3 separate regions of the Homo sapiens genome follow, and all the other regions are linked to region 3. The links are contacts of gene promoters, found by promoter capture Hi-C in blood cells and fetal thymus (Javierre and others, 2016). All regions are on one chromosome and are shown on one strand. The core of a region is centred on a gene start or on the middle of the fragment in contact, and the rest is flanking DNA. Distances in the headings are between cores, read along the strand shown. Region 1 overlaps LRRK2-DT (LRRK2 divergent transcript). Region 2 overlaps LRRK2 (leucine rich repeat kinase 2). Region 3 holds the start of ABCD2 (ATP binding cassette subfamily D member 2).

Region 1 (4,365 bases), core at 443-2,942, 530 kb before region 3:
CCTGGATACACTCAAATGATACATTCTCCTTCAGAATTTTTTTTTAGAGACGGGGTCTCACTCTGTCGCCCAGGCTGGAGTGCAGTCATGGCTCACTGCAATCTTAAGGGAGCCTCCAGAGTAGCTGGAGCTACAGGCATGCGCCACCACGCATGGCTCTCCAGGATTTTAATCAGCAAACTCACTGGCAGCTATCTGTTATTTCAAAAAACCTCTTGCCAGTGTCCTACATGTCCTACATTTTTCTGCTATGTTGTCCTCTTGTTTGAACCTGCTGGGGGGAAAAAATATATATATATATAAATATATATTTATATGTATATATTTATATATATTTATATATATATATTTATATATATATTTATATATATATTTATATATATATTTATATATATATTTATATATATATTTATATATATATTTATATATATTTATATATATTTATATATATATTTATATATATATTTATATATATACTTATATATATTTATATATATTTATATATATACTTATATATATTTATATATATTTATATATATATTTATATATATACTTATATATATTTATATATTTATATACATACTTATATATATTTATATATATTTATATATATATTTATATATATTTATATATATTTATATGTATTTATATATACATTTATATATATTCATATATATTTATATATATATATTTATATATATATTTATATATATTTATATATATATTTATATATATTTATATATATATTTATATATATATTTATATATATTTATATATATATTTATATATATATATATATTTTATATATTTATATATATATATTTATATATATATTTTATATATATTTATATATATTTATATATATTTTATATATATTTATATATATATATATATGCTAGCACTGAGCTAGCTGGAGAAAGTGGTACAACTGGGAATTCTGTCCATAAATTCACTAACCTTAGCTAGGCTTTGAACACTGCCCAACCGTGCTGCTTTATTTCCTTCCCTACTTGCTCTCCTGTTCTGTATACAATTTTTAATCTTCACTCTCCTTAAACCTAAAGCCCCAAGCTTTCCCCTCACCCCCAGGAGATGACTTTACCACCTACTTCACAAGGAACATGAGAGCCATTAAGTAGACATTCCATCATATTCCTATCACCCAATTTTCTTTTTTCTTTTTTTCTTTTTTTTTCTTTTTCTTTTTCTTTTTTTTTTTTTTTTTTTTTTTGTTTGTTTGTTTGAGACGGAATCTCACTTTGTCTCCCAGGCTGGAGTACAGTGGCGCCATCTCTGCTCACTGCAAGCTCTGCCTCCCGGGTTCACACCATTCTCCTGCCTCAGCCTCCGGAGTAGCTGGGACTACAGGCGCCCGCCACCACGCCCAGCTAATTTTTTGTATTTTTAGTAGAGACGGGGTTTCACCTTGTTAGCCAGGATGGCCTCGATCTGCTCACCTTGTGATCTGCCTGCCTTGTCCTCCCAAAGTGCTGGGATTACAGGCGTGAGCCACCATGCCCGGTCCCCAATTTTCAAATCTACTTGCATCCTTAGTAGCAACGACAGAGCCTGGCATGGAAGGGATAATAGTAAATATTTACTGAATAAATGCATATCCATCCTTACCTCCTGCATCATGTGTAATGAAGAAATCCTTTCCTTTGTCTCCATATTCTTTTTCATTTGCCTTTCAGGAATCTCACACTACTCATTTTTTTACTCTCTCCTAGAGTCTTTATCCTCCCCCCTCTTTATGGGTTACTTCTCATGTGCATTTAAGTATGTTATAACGTCTCTAAATTAAAAAAAAATTCCTGCAGACTTACTCCCACCCTTCCACAGCTGTATGATATTCCATTGTATCCTACAATTTGTCCATTCTTTTGTTGGTTGTTTGAGTTATTTTTAGTTTTTTGTTAATACAGTGTTTCTACAAACATATGTAGTATTTTCTCCAGAAGAGGAATTGCTGGATAATTGGATATGCACAAACTCAACTATGGCACATGACGCCAAATTGTGATTCAAAACGGTTGGACCATTTACACTCATGCTGGCCATGTGGAAGGTTTTCCATTGTTCCACGTCATCATAGTCTCAGAATGTTTTTTAATTAATTAATTTAAAAATTTTTTTCTCTTTTTCTTTTTGTTTTGTTTTGTTTTGTTTCACATTTCTTAAGTTTTGCAAATCAAATGGGTGTTTAATGGTATCACAGTTTGGCTTTACTTTGCATTTCCCTGGTTACTAATGAAACTGTCCGTCTTTTAATATAGACCATTCCTCTTTCTTCTTTTAGGAACTTAAAGCTTTTGCTCATTTTTCTTTTGTATCATTTATCTTTTTAGTGTTGGTTTGAATTTCTTTCTATAGTCTGGATATTAACAATTTTAAATCATATTTGCTGCAAATATGGTATTTGTGATTTGATTCCTACTTTATGCTGTTTTGTTGTTAAATAGATGAACTTATTCTTAATATAGTTGAATTAAATAGTCTTTTTCTTTGTAATTTGAGTATTTTGCTTCTTTGAGAAGTCTTTGCTCTGAAATCATAAAGATTTTCTTATAGATTGTCTTATAAAGTGTTATAGAATTCTCTCATCTACCTATAATTAATTATGTGATAACCAGCTTCCAAGATGGCACCAATAATCCCTGCCCCGGATATTCATACCCTTGTCTGTGGTATCCCCACTTACTGAATAAGGCTGACCTGTATAATAAATAAGATATGCAAAAATGATGGTGTTAGATCTCTGAGCCTAGATAACAAAAGGCATTGTAATTTCCACCTGTCCTCTCTTTTTTATTTCTAGCTATGAGGGAAGCCAACTTCTGTGTCATGAGGACATTCAAGCAGCACTATGGAGCCATCCATGTGGCTAGGAGCTGAAACTGAGCCAAGAAGCAGTGAGGAACTGGCTGGTAACAGCCATGTGGGTAAAAGCCATCTGAGAAGTGCATGCTCTAGTCTCAGTCAAGCCTTCAGAAGACTGTGGCACCTGACATCTCCACTGCAACCTCATTAGAAACTCAAGACAGAACTGCCAGAGAAGCTCTTCCTGAATTTCTGACCTACAGAAACGGTGTCAAAAAGATATTTATTATTGTTTTGAGCCCTAAGTTTTTGGAGTGACTTGTTGCTCCAAATATATTAGATAATATATTATATATGTAAGGTAACATTTCAGTTTTGACATTTTCACATGCATGATCAGTTATTTCAGCACTATTTAAAAATTTCTTTCTATCTTCTGTTATCAGCAAGATCAGCTGTGTCATAAATTAAGTTTCCAATTATATGTAGATTTGATTCTGGACTCTTTATTCTGTTTCACAGGTCACGTTGCTTATTCTTGAGTGAATACTTCATTATTTAATTATTATATATATATATTTGATAAGGCATACAGTTTGCTATAGTCTTACCTATTTTTAAACCTTTGGTCTTTTATATCCTTAGAATCACCTTGACATTCTTTACAAGAAAATCCATCGGGTTTTGAGTGGAATTACACTGAGTATAAGTACCAGTTGGGGAAAAATTGACATCTTTAGTATGTCGAATCTTTTAATCCATTTGTAATCCATGCTGTGTTACTGTTTTTATTTGGAGTTGTCTTTCAAAATGTTTTACAGTTTTCTTTGCAAAGGTCACATACATCTTTTGTTAGTTCCATTACTAGGTATTTCATTTTTATACACAAGAATGAAATATTAATAGATCCTTAAAGAAAATAACATTTAAAATAGCATAAGATATATCAAATTGCTCAAGTCAGAAACTGGCACATAATAAATACATCATAAATGTCCTAAACCAGATGTATGAATGAATAAATAAATGGATGAGTGGATGAATATGAGACCCAGTATGCCTATCTATAACCTATTATTTCAGATACCATTCTGCTTAGGTATTCAGTATTCTCAAGGGATTTTTCTCCACAATAAGAAAACTTGATGCTTCCAGTTCTTACCTCAGTATGCCACTGATAAAGTAAAACAGATCTAAAAGAATAGTTTCAAAGAGATGTAAAATGACACCTTATGTCAACTTGTCTTTTCCTTTTTCATGACTCCTTTTTCTTCTTTCTAACTTTTGGCATCTGTAATTGAGATTTCCTTCCAAGCATATTTAGCTCAACTTAAATATACTTCATTGAGGCTTTGGCAAACCTTTTCAAGTATAAGGATAATACAGAATTATCTATTTTTCTATAGTTTGTTTTATTGCTGCTGTTATTGTTGTTTTATTTTGTTTGCTATAAAGATTAGCCTCTTGTTCAATGGAAAATATGATCAAAAACAGTGTTCAAAAATTATTTAAGGGCCCCATCACTACAGCAATCATTAGTCCTAC
Region 2 (4,485 bases), core at 402-2,901, 700 kb before region 3:
TTGCTCTTTTTTTGTAAATGTCTTAGTGGCTGTGCAACAGAAAAGAGATAATTACAGTCCCTACAATGTAATCACAGTCAAGATCTGAGTGAGCACCTAAGGAATTTTCTTCCTGACAAATTAGATGAGGTTATATGTGCTTGTGTGTCTTTAGATTGCCTACTCCAAGGTTTTATGAGCTTATTTTCTAATTCTTCAGCTGCCTTCCAAACAAGTAAACTCTGAGAAAATGGCATATTACTTTTCATATGCCATCTCCCTAATTTCTCTAAAAATTAATAAGTCTAAATTAATAGTCTCTAAAAATCTAATAAGTCTTCATTAGATACTTACCTCTCCCTGAAAGCATGTAAGGTGAAATCTCAAGTAATCGATTGATTAATCTTGACCAAAATCCCATTGGAAAATAAGGCATTTCATATAGTCGGATGATAATTTCAGAGTTCTCACAATGGGGAAGCTCTATCACAGGCCTGTGGTCAGACAAACTAAAGGCAAAAGGACACTATGGTTATACAGCCTCACAAAACACCCAACCTTGTTGAGCAAATGATTTTACTGCTTAAAGTCAATGAAGGTAATCATTCCAAACAATTGTAATCTTTTTGTAACATTGTTTCACTACATATTTTTCCTACACCAAAAATTCAGTGGTCAATAACCAATTCAAATGCATGCTCAGATGTAGATGCATGAAATATTTTCGGTAATCCCTGTGCACTAATACATAAATTATTACAATTAGTTATGCATAGACAAATGTAATCTTATATAAATCCTGAAAAATACATGTCCTAGAAAAAAAGTGTATATTTATTTTTAAAATTGGCTGCATCCATCAATCAATGTAATTTGCACATTTCAACATCATATTACTTTATAAATTTCCCAGTTGCTTAGAGCAGTAGGAAAAATTTCCATAGTATAGGCTAAAACATAGGCATCCATTGTGATGCCATAAATGCTTTTAAAATTCTGTTGAAAACTCACTATCTTCTCAGAACTTGCTTAATAAACTCTCTCAGTGTTGTTTAAGAACACACACATACACAAACACAGACACACACACACATTAATCTCCACTATTTACCTTTCTTAAATAATTTCAACAGTGATAAGCCAACTAGTAACTATACACATAAAGTAAGTGATTTACTATATTGTTAAAGTGTCAGATGCAATGTTTTATTCCAAAATAAATGATACATGTCAGTAGGAGGTTTACACTAGAAGCAAAATATATTTATTTATTTAATACATCTATTATAGACTACAGTTAGTTTGACAATTAAAAGAATAGATAGTGAATTTCCATGTAGCAATTAATTTTTTAAGGTTTTCTTTACCTGCTTGGAACCAGCAAATATTCTTCTCCTATTGGCAAAGCAATCTGGAATTTTTCTAGGAGCTTAAAATACTGTGACATGTAGTTCTTTGGAAATTTCCTTTTTTTTGAAAGAAATTTTTCCACATCTCTACGCGAAATAATGCCCTTAGGGTGTTTTGGACAACCTTCCACTTTCACTGTCAAAATCTGAAAGATTCGAGTCATAAATAATCACTAAAATTTATTTTCTGAAATGTTGCAAATTTAAAGCATTTTATGTCTCTTTGCTCAGTGAAAGTAGTCAGAAAGATTTTAGTGTTTTCAAGTGCAACACAGTACCTAATTTCTCTAGCAACCATGTGGCCTAGAAGCCCAGAGGGGCATTCACTCTCAAAAAAAAAAAAAAAATTGTTAAATTAAGGGAGTTAATTCGGATAGGAAATCATTGAACTTCACTGAAACAATGAACATCAGTATTTCCCTAGCTACAATGGAAAGATCAATCCAATACCTCACATCTGTTTTGCAGTCTCATCAATAATATATTCCCAGGAAAATTATCTTCCAGACAGTTATCAATACAGGTTTGAAATAGAAATATTACTTCACATTTATATACTAGGAGAGGACTTCCATGAATAGGAAGACAGACTGTGTAGCAGAGTTTCATGATTCTCAAAGTAACTACTGCATTTTGATGGATTCTACTTGCAGTGTCTGGGTCAGTAGGTCTGGGTTGAGGCCTGAGAATCGGCTTTTTTAAAGAGCAACCCCGATGTTTCTAACACAGAGATCACACTTTGAGCTTTGATCCTTGTCATGGCAGTTAAAAATCAGTCAGAACCCAGATTCAAATCCAGGCTCTACTACTAGCTCTGTAACCTTGGGAAAGGTATTTGATTTCTTTACTGCACAGCTTTCTTCTCTATAAAATGAGATAATAAAAGTGACTGTCTTAGATTGCCCTGAGAATGAAATAACACATGTAAAGTACGCAAAGTACATATGACAAATTTTAGCATATTTATCTATATATTCCAATTTATTTTGCTTTGTCAAATTCACTTTAAAAAGAGGTTTGTATTTAATTTTCTTTGGGAGATCTATAATGTTTAAGGAATACTTAAACAGAAGCAAACATTATTTATGCTATCATGTAGTTGAGTGAAATACCAGGTTATAAAGTCCTTAGGCCCAAGGACTTGTCTTACCCATTTCTGTATTTCTATTTTGTATGTACAGTATTTATTGAATCAATGAATGCATGGTTGATTGAACATATTGGTATTTAATGACAGTGTGCAATGGGCCTATAAATAATAAAAACTGTTGTTTAAGACTTCTCCCATGTTGTGTACTTTATAGCAATTCCAGATCGCTCTTACAGTTTAGGTGGTAAAGAGAATTGTTTGCTGTTTTAGTGTTTTTTAAGTGCTAAGACCTTTTTTGACAATTCATCTCCAACTGCACTTCATATTTTCTTTGTAGCACTCTGTACCACTCAACATATTATATGTTTATTTATTACTTCTCTTCTCTCATTTGAATATCAGCCCTATGAATGTATAAACTCATAGGCCCTGGAGTCAAACTACTTGGTTTGAAATTCTAACTCTACCTCTTCCTGAATGTGTACCGTTGGATAAATTATTCAACCTCTCTGTCAATCAATTTCTTCATCTGTATCATAGGGGCTAATAAAGTACCATTTGGAAAGGTTGCTGTGAGAATTACATGAGCTAATCTTTGAAAAGCACATATTAACCTCATGTATGTTAGCCATTATTATCTAGTTATTCTAATCTATTTTACTAAGATACACTTATTTTTTAAAGAGTTTGTGCTTGATTTTCCTAGTGGATCTATAGCGTGCTACCACTATTTATAGTGGAAGTTTCCAAAGATGGACACATCATTTCCATCCCTATACATAGGTGCTATTCATATAGAGTCTCTTTTCCTTCCCCTTTAATCTGAGCTAGGTTTGTGGTTGCTCTGGTTACTAGAATGTAGCAGAATTAATATTTTTGCCAGTCCTTGGCCTAGCCTTTAAGAGGACAGAAAAAATCTGCTTCATTTCTCTTGGTAACCAGCCACCATGAAAGATGTCTAATTATTCTGTGATCACCGTGCCACGAGGAAGCCCAACTTAGCCATATGATAGGCCACATGGAGAAGCACCAATACTCCAAAAACATGCATGTACCTTTCTTGCACTTTCCAGCTCAGTTTAATGAATGAAGCCAAGTGAATAACCCTTGCCAATACCATGTGGAGCAGAACCACGCAGCTGAGCCCAGTCAAGCCACAGAAGAACGAGAAATGATAAATTGTTCACATTTTAAGCCTCCAAGTTTCGAGGGGGTTTGTTACATAAGAATAAAATCTGCAACATTATCTTGACTTTATCACCTTTAAAAGAGCTCCTAACATTCCTTCAACCTCATAACCTGAATAGCTAACTGATGCCTTATTCAAGGAAAGAGAATTTTCCAAATTCCTTTGTATTTCTCCCATGTATTTTTATCAAGGTTAAATTGCCATGTAAGCTTTTTAATGTTCCACCTGATTAATTGAATAGGTCTCTTTCATATCTCTTTTATCATACAGTTAAATGAGTCTTGTAAACTTCTCCCTGCCTTAATGGTACCTTTTTTTAATAAGTTTAGTGACCTAACAGCTCGGGGCGCATAGAGTGGGTGGGCTCATTAGAGCTTCTGCACCATGAAATTATTCCGGCCCTTGCCTTGATTCATGAAGGTGAATACTCCTATTTATTTTTGCTAATAGCTGTCAGACAAGTTGCTCTTGGTTTCACTTGATTATTTAGAGATTTCATTTCCTTTAAACCTTAGTGATAAAATGACATTATATTTCAATTTATTGGCATAAATAAAAATGATGGCACTTCTTTTTTAGGTTAATCGGAAATTTAAATTATCATTTTATTGACATTTTAAATCTGTCTTTAAAAGTAACTTTGAGTGGCTCAAATTAACTTAATTTTTACTTAAATTATCATATTTATAACTATGCTAATGAGAAGAACTTTCATGGAGTTTCAACTTAATTACTCCACAGAATCTTCAGGAATTTTATTGCAGTCATAGTGAAAATCTGCATTTTTTTAAAAGGGGAGTTCTGATGCAAACCTCTTC
Region 3 (4,493 bases), core at 507-3,006:
AATATATATCACTTTTGTAAGATTTCAGTAGATACCACAAGCAGAAGAGCAAGCAGAAAGGGAGATTTCCGAGAATTTTAATGAGATGGGGGGCGGGGACAGTGAAGAGCAAAAAAAATGGTTTTTCCATATCCAAAAATATACTCAGCCCTGACTTAAAAAATGCTCTTGGCTGGGCGTGGTGGCCCACGTCTATAATCCGAGCACTTTGGGAGGCTAAGGCAGGTGGATCACTTGAGGCCAGGAGGTTGAGACCAGCCTGGCAAACATGGCAAAACCCATCTCTACTAAAACTACAGAAATTAGCCAAGTATGGTAGGCGCACCCTCGTAATCCCAGCTACTCGGGCTGCTGAGGCACCAACCTGGGAGGCGGAGGCTGCAGTGAGCTGAGATCGTGCCACTGCACTCCAGCCTGGGTGACAGAGAGAGACTCTGTCTCATAAAAAAAAAAAAAAAAAAAAAAAAAAAAGCTTTTTACATTTTCAAAAATATGCAGAATTGTCCTTGACTGTTGAACAATTTAAATCCTCCATTATGGATGTGAAGAATTTTAAGACTCTTAGTTTTTATCAAATAACCAAATGGAAATAGGAAGTAGCCAGTAGATTATCTCTACAGCTAAACAAAACAAACAAAGCAGAAACCTGCAAAAGACAAAGCATTCTTGAAAAATGAAGTAAGGTCCTAGAGAAGCTATTTCCACCATCCAACACCAGCTGAATTCCCAAATGGTTAAACTTTCACTATAAGTGCTACCCCACTCCAAGTAAAAACTACCTAACACATGGGAGTAGTAAACATGAAACATTGCTCTCATTTATTTAATAGTCGTCACCTTGTAAATAAATATGAGTACATCAGATCTCCAGTTATGGGGCTGGAAGATTTTTAGCATAAGGACAAGTAGGATGCAGAGGAAAAAGGGAGAATGGCTAGAGGCATAGCAAATAATTATTTTCTGTAACACGGAAGACTTTTATCCTATTTATTTACAAGGGAAACCCTCGATTACAACTTGTCTATTAGGTTCTGAGACCTTTTGTGAAATCAGACCCCCAAAAAAGCCGGGGGGATCTGTGAAAAACAGATCCAAGTGTATTTGATATTTGGCATTCTCCGGTGTCCCTCCCACTTGTCACTTTCTTTTCTGATCCGTTTCAGATTCATTCCATATCCTTTTCATATTCATTTTATGTTGATCCTCTTGTCCCTCCTCCCTCATTTTCGTGGTTCCTTCTCCCTCCTCGTCTCATTAAAACTCTTGCAAATCTCCCTTTCTGCTTGCTCTTCTGTTTGCGGTAGCTGCTGAAATCTTACCGAAGTGATGTATATTCTGAAACTTCTGCGGGTTTCTAAGTGACATTGAGCATGCTCAGTAGCTAGGGCCGGTTTTGTTCGCTTGGAAATCTCCCTTTCTGCTTGCTCTTCTGTTTGCGGTATCTACTGAAATCTTACCGAAGTGATGTATATTCTGAAACTTCTGTGGGTTTCTAAGTGACACTGAGCATGCTCAGTAGCTAGAGCCGGTTTTGTTCGCCAGCAGATGGCCTGATTCGACCTCTCCAAAAATAGACATTTTAACTCTCTGAACTCCTGTTTAAGGAAGGATGTAATTCGCTTTGCTCTCTCCTCATTTTCAAGGTTCAAAGGGAAGCTGCGAGGATTCCAAGGTCCCACCGCCCTCACAGCCAATGAGGGGCCTGGGAGGGAGGAGCTTGGTGCAGCTTGAGCTTCTGAGAGAATCATTCCCGGTAGATGCAGCGGAGTCTGAGCTCTGCTGCATCTGTCACAGCAGAACAAAATTAAAAACACAACAGTGGAAGAGAAACGCTGCAGACTATGGGACGCTGTAGGACTTTCTAAAACATTTGCTGGGGATTTCTGTGAAGCATGATCTTTTAAAACGAATTCTTTTGGAAGCCGGTTTGGGTAACTGGGAAAATGACACATATGCTAAATGCAGCAGCTGATCGAGTGAAATGGACCAGATCGAGTGCTGCTAAGAGGGCTGCCTGCCTGGTGGCTGCGGCATATGCTCTGAAAACCCTCTATCCCATCATTGGCAAGCGTTTAAAGCAATCTGGCCACGGGAAGAAAAAAGCAGCAGCTTACCCTGCTGCAGAGAACACAGAAATACTGCATTGCACCGAGACCATTTGTGAAAAACCTTCGCCTGGAGTGAATGCAGATTTCTTCAAACAGCTACTAGAACTTCGGAAAATTTTGTTTCCAAAACTTGTGACCACTGAAACAGGGTGGCTCTGCCTGCACTCAGTGGCTCTAATCTCAAGAACCTTTCTTTCTATCTATGTGGCTGGTCTGGATGGAAAAATCGTGAAAAGCATTGTGGAAAAGAAGCCTCGGACTTTCATCATCAAATTAATCAAGTGGCTTATGATTGCCATCCCTGCTACCTTCGTCAACAGTGCAATAAGGTACCTGGAATGCAAATTGGCTTTGGCCTTCAGAACTCGCCTAGTAGACCACGCCTATGAAACCTATTTTACAAATCAGACTTATTATAAAGTGATCAATATGGATGGGAGGCTGGCAAACCCTGACCAATCTCTTACGGAGGATATTATGATGTTCTCCCAATCTGTGGCTCACTTGTATTCCAATCTGACCAAACCTATTTTAGATGTAATGCTGACCTCCTATACACTCATTCAAACTGCTACATCCAGAGGAGCAAGCCCAATTGGGCCCACCCTACTAGCAGGACTTGTGGTGTATGCCACTGCTAAAGTGTTAAAAGCCTGTTCTCCCAAATTTGGCAAACTGGTGGCAGAGGAAGCACATAGAAAAGGCTATTTGCGGTATGTGCACTCGAGAATTATAGCCAATGTAGAAGAAATTGCCTTTTACAGAGGACATAAGGTAAGATAGAAATTAAGGTGATGGGTGAAATGTGAAACTGTTCAAGTTGCCACTGCAGTGCCAGATACCATCTGTTGTCCTGTCGATGGACCCACTTCTTTAGTGTCTTAGATTCCTCTGACATCTAAACCTGAATTAAAATATATGCTTCATTACCCCTTTTAACTGTAACCAGTTAAAGGATTATAGGGTGCAAACTTTTCTAAAGTTTCAGAAGAATAAAATTTGCAACACTCTAAAAAAGTCTACTTAGCCTCAGTTACTCAAATATGCTCAGAATTATTTCTAACGCATTTTCTTAAAACTTAAATCCCAACTTGGTAGGTCATCCTAAAGCACCTACCAGAAGAAAATATATATTTAGAAACTAAGACTAAACATATTTCCACTGAAATGGAAAATTTAGAATGATATTCTTTGTTGTTCCTTTGTTGTCCAAGAGGGGGGAAGAGCCAGGGTTTCTTATAGAAGACATTTTTAACAATTTTGCATGTCTGATCAATATGGAGCATCCCCATTCCCAAGAAGCGTAGGAGAGTGTCTCACAAAATGGCATTTCTACTACTCTTAGTTCATGTTCAGCACTGTACTTTGACAAAATGAAAAGAGGAAGTGAAATGAAATTTTGTCTAGCTTTGAAAAAAAAAAAAAGCTGAAATTAGAGAAGAAATGAGGAGTACAAAAGGAGTTTCAGAATGTTTTTAATTATTAAAGATTTTCAACATTAAGCAGATCCCTAAAACAATTAGCCCAATTATACATACTAACAGTGCATGAAGGTAACTTCAGAATATGAAATGACAGAAATTTTGAAGGCAATGCAATCTTAATTTAAATGACTTGGTGAATAAAATAAAGTATTCTACTGTTGAAGATGGCATGTCAATCACCAAGCAGAATTATTTAATTTTTAAAGCATCTGTAATTATCAGTGTCTTTAATAGCAGTAGCAACCTGAAAAATAATATTTAAAGTAAATTTAGGAATCCTACTCCCACTTGAAAATTGACCTCATATATTGTATTATATCATATTGATTTGTGATTCTTCTTGAACTATTGAATTCAATGATATAAATTATAGTGTGCTTAGACTTCTTGCATAAAAGACAAAATCCAACAAATTGAGTCAGTTCAAAAGTGGAGTCTATACATATATATGTCATGTGTCCATTTTCAGATATTTTTGGTGTAATCAACAAGGACAAAGCTCTAATAATTGTTTATTCATGTCTCATATAATATCATTTAATTTTAACATCTCATACATAAAATTTAAATATCATAACTATAAATTACTTATATGTATTTTATACCTAACATTATGTCCACTGAGTAGCATAAACTTTTAAAAATAATACACATGTGACCAAAACTAAATAATAACTAATACTGGTATTAATCTGCATTTATTGGTTAAGATGCATAGATAATGCCATACTAAAAAAAAAAAAGAATAATATGTATATATCTTTAAAAAAAGTCCTCAACTCTTTTTCCTCTCTATAGGTAGAAATGAAACAACTTCAGAAAAGTTACAAAGCTTTAGCAGATCAGATGAACCTCATTTTATCCAAACGTTTGTGGTACATCATGATAGAACAGTTCCTGA

What was found. Contacts are between HindIII fragments. The CHiCAGO score rates a contact against its expected background, and 5 or more counts as called.
Region 1: a contact is called between a fragment that was not itself captured here and the fragment with the promoter of ABCD2 in region 3, in 2 of 17 cell types (total CD4 T cells and naive CD4 T cells). The highest score is 8.6, in total CD4 T cells.
Region 2: a contact is called between a fragment that was not itself captured here and the fragment with the promoter of ABCD2 in region 3, in 1 of 17 cell types (total B cells). The highest score is 5.6, in total B cells.

What each region holds. Positions count from the first base shown.
Region 1 is chr12:40,142,758-40,147,122 of GRCh38, reverse strand. It overlaps LRRK2-DT (LRRK2 divergent transcript), which reads left to right. Exons shown (of 9, transcript NR_186757.1): 8 at 2,819-3,088. Among named protein-coding and RNA genes, the nearest start is that of LINC02471, 11 kb to the left of the region's middle. The HindIII fragment of the contact is 1,238 bases long and covers 1,074-2,311 here.
Region 2 is chr12:40,317,037-40,321,521 of GRCh38, reverse strand. LRRK2 (leucine rich repeat kinase 2) reads right to left here. Exons shown (of 51, transcript NM_198578.4): 34 at 1,347-1,534; 35 at 334-488. Among named protein-coding and RNA genes, the nearest start is that of MUC19, 74 kb to the left of the region's middle. The HindIII fragment of the contact is 4,455 bases long and covers 1-3,878 here.
Region 3 is chr12:39,617,066-39,621,558 of GRCh38, reverse strand. It overlaps ABCD2 (ATP binding cassette subfamily D member 2), which reads left to right and starts at 1,756. Exons shown (of 10, transcript NM_005164.4): 1 at 1,756-2,882; 2 at 4,391-4,493. The coding sequence starts at 1,944. RefSeq lists enhancers at 136-215, 1,445-1,964, 2,275-2,354. The HindIII fragment of the contact is 3,952 bases long and covers 475-4,426 here.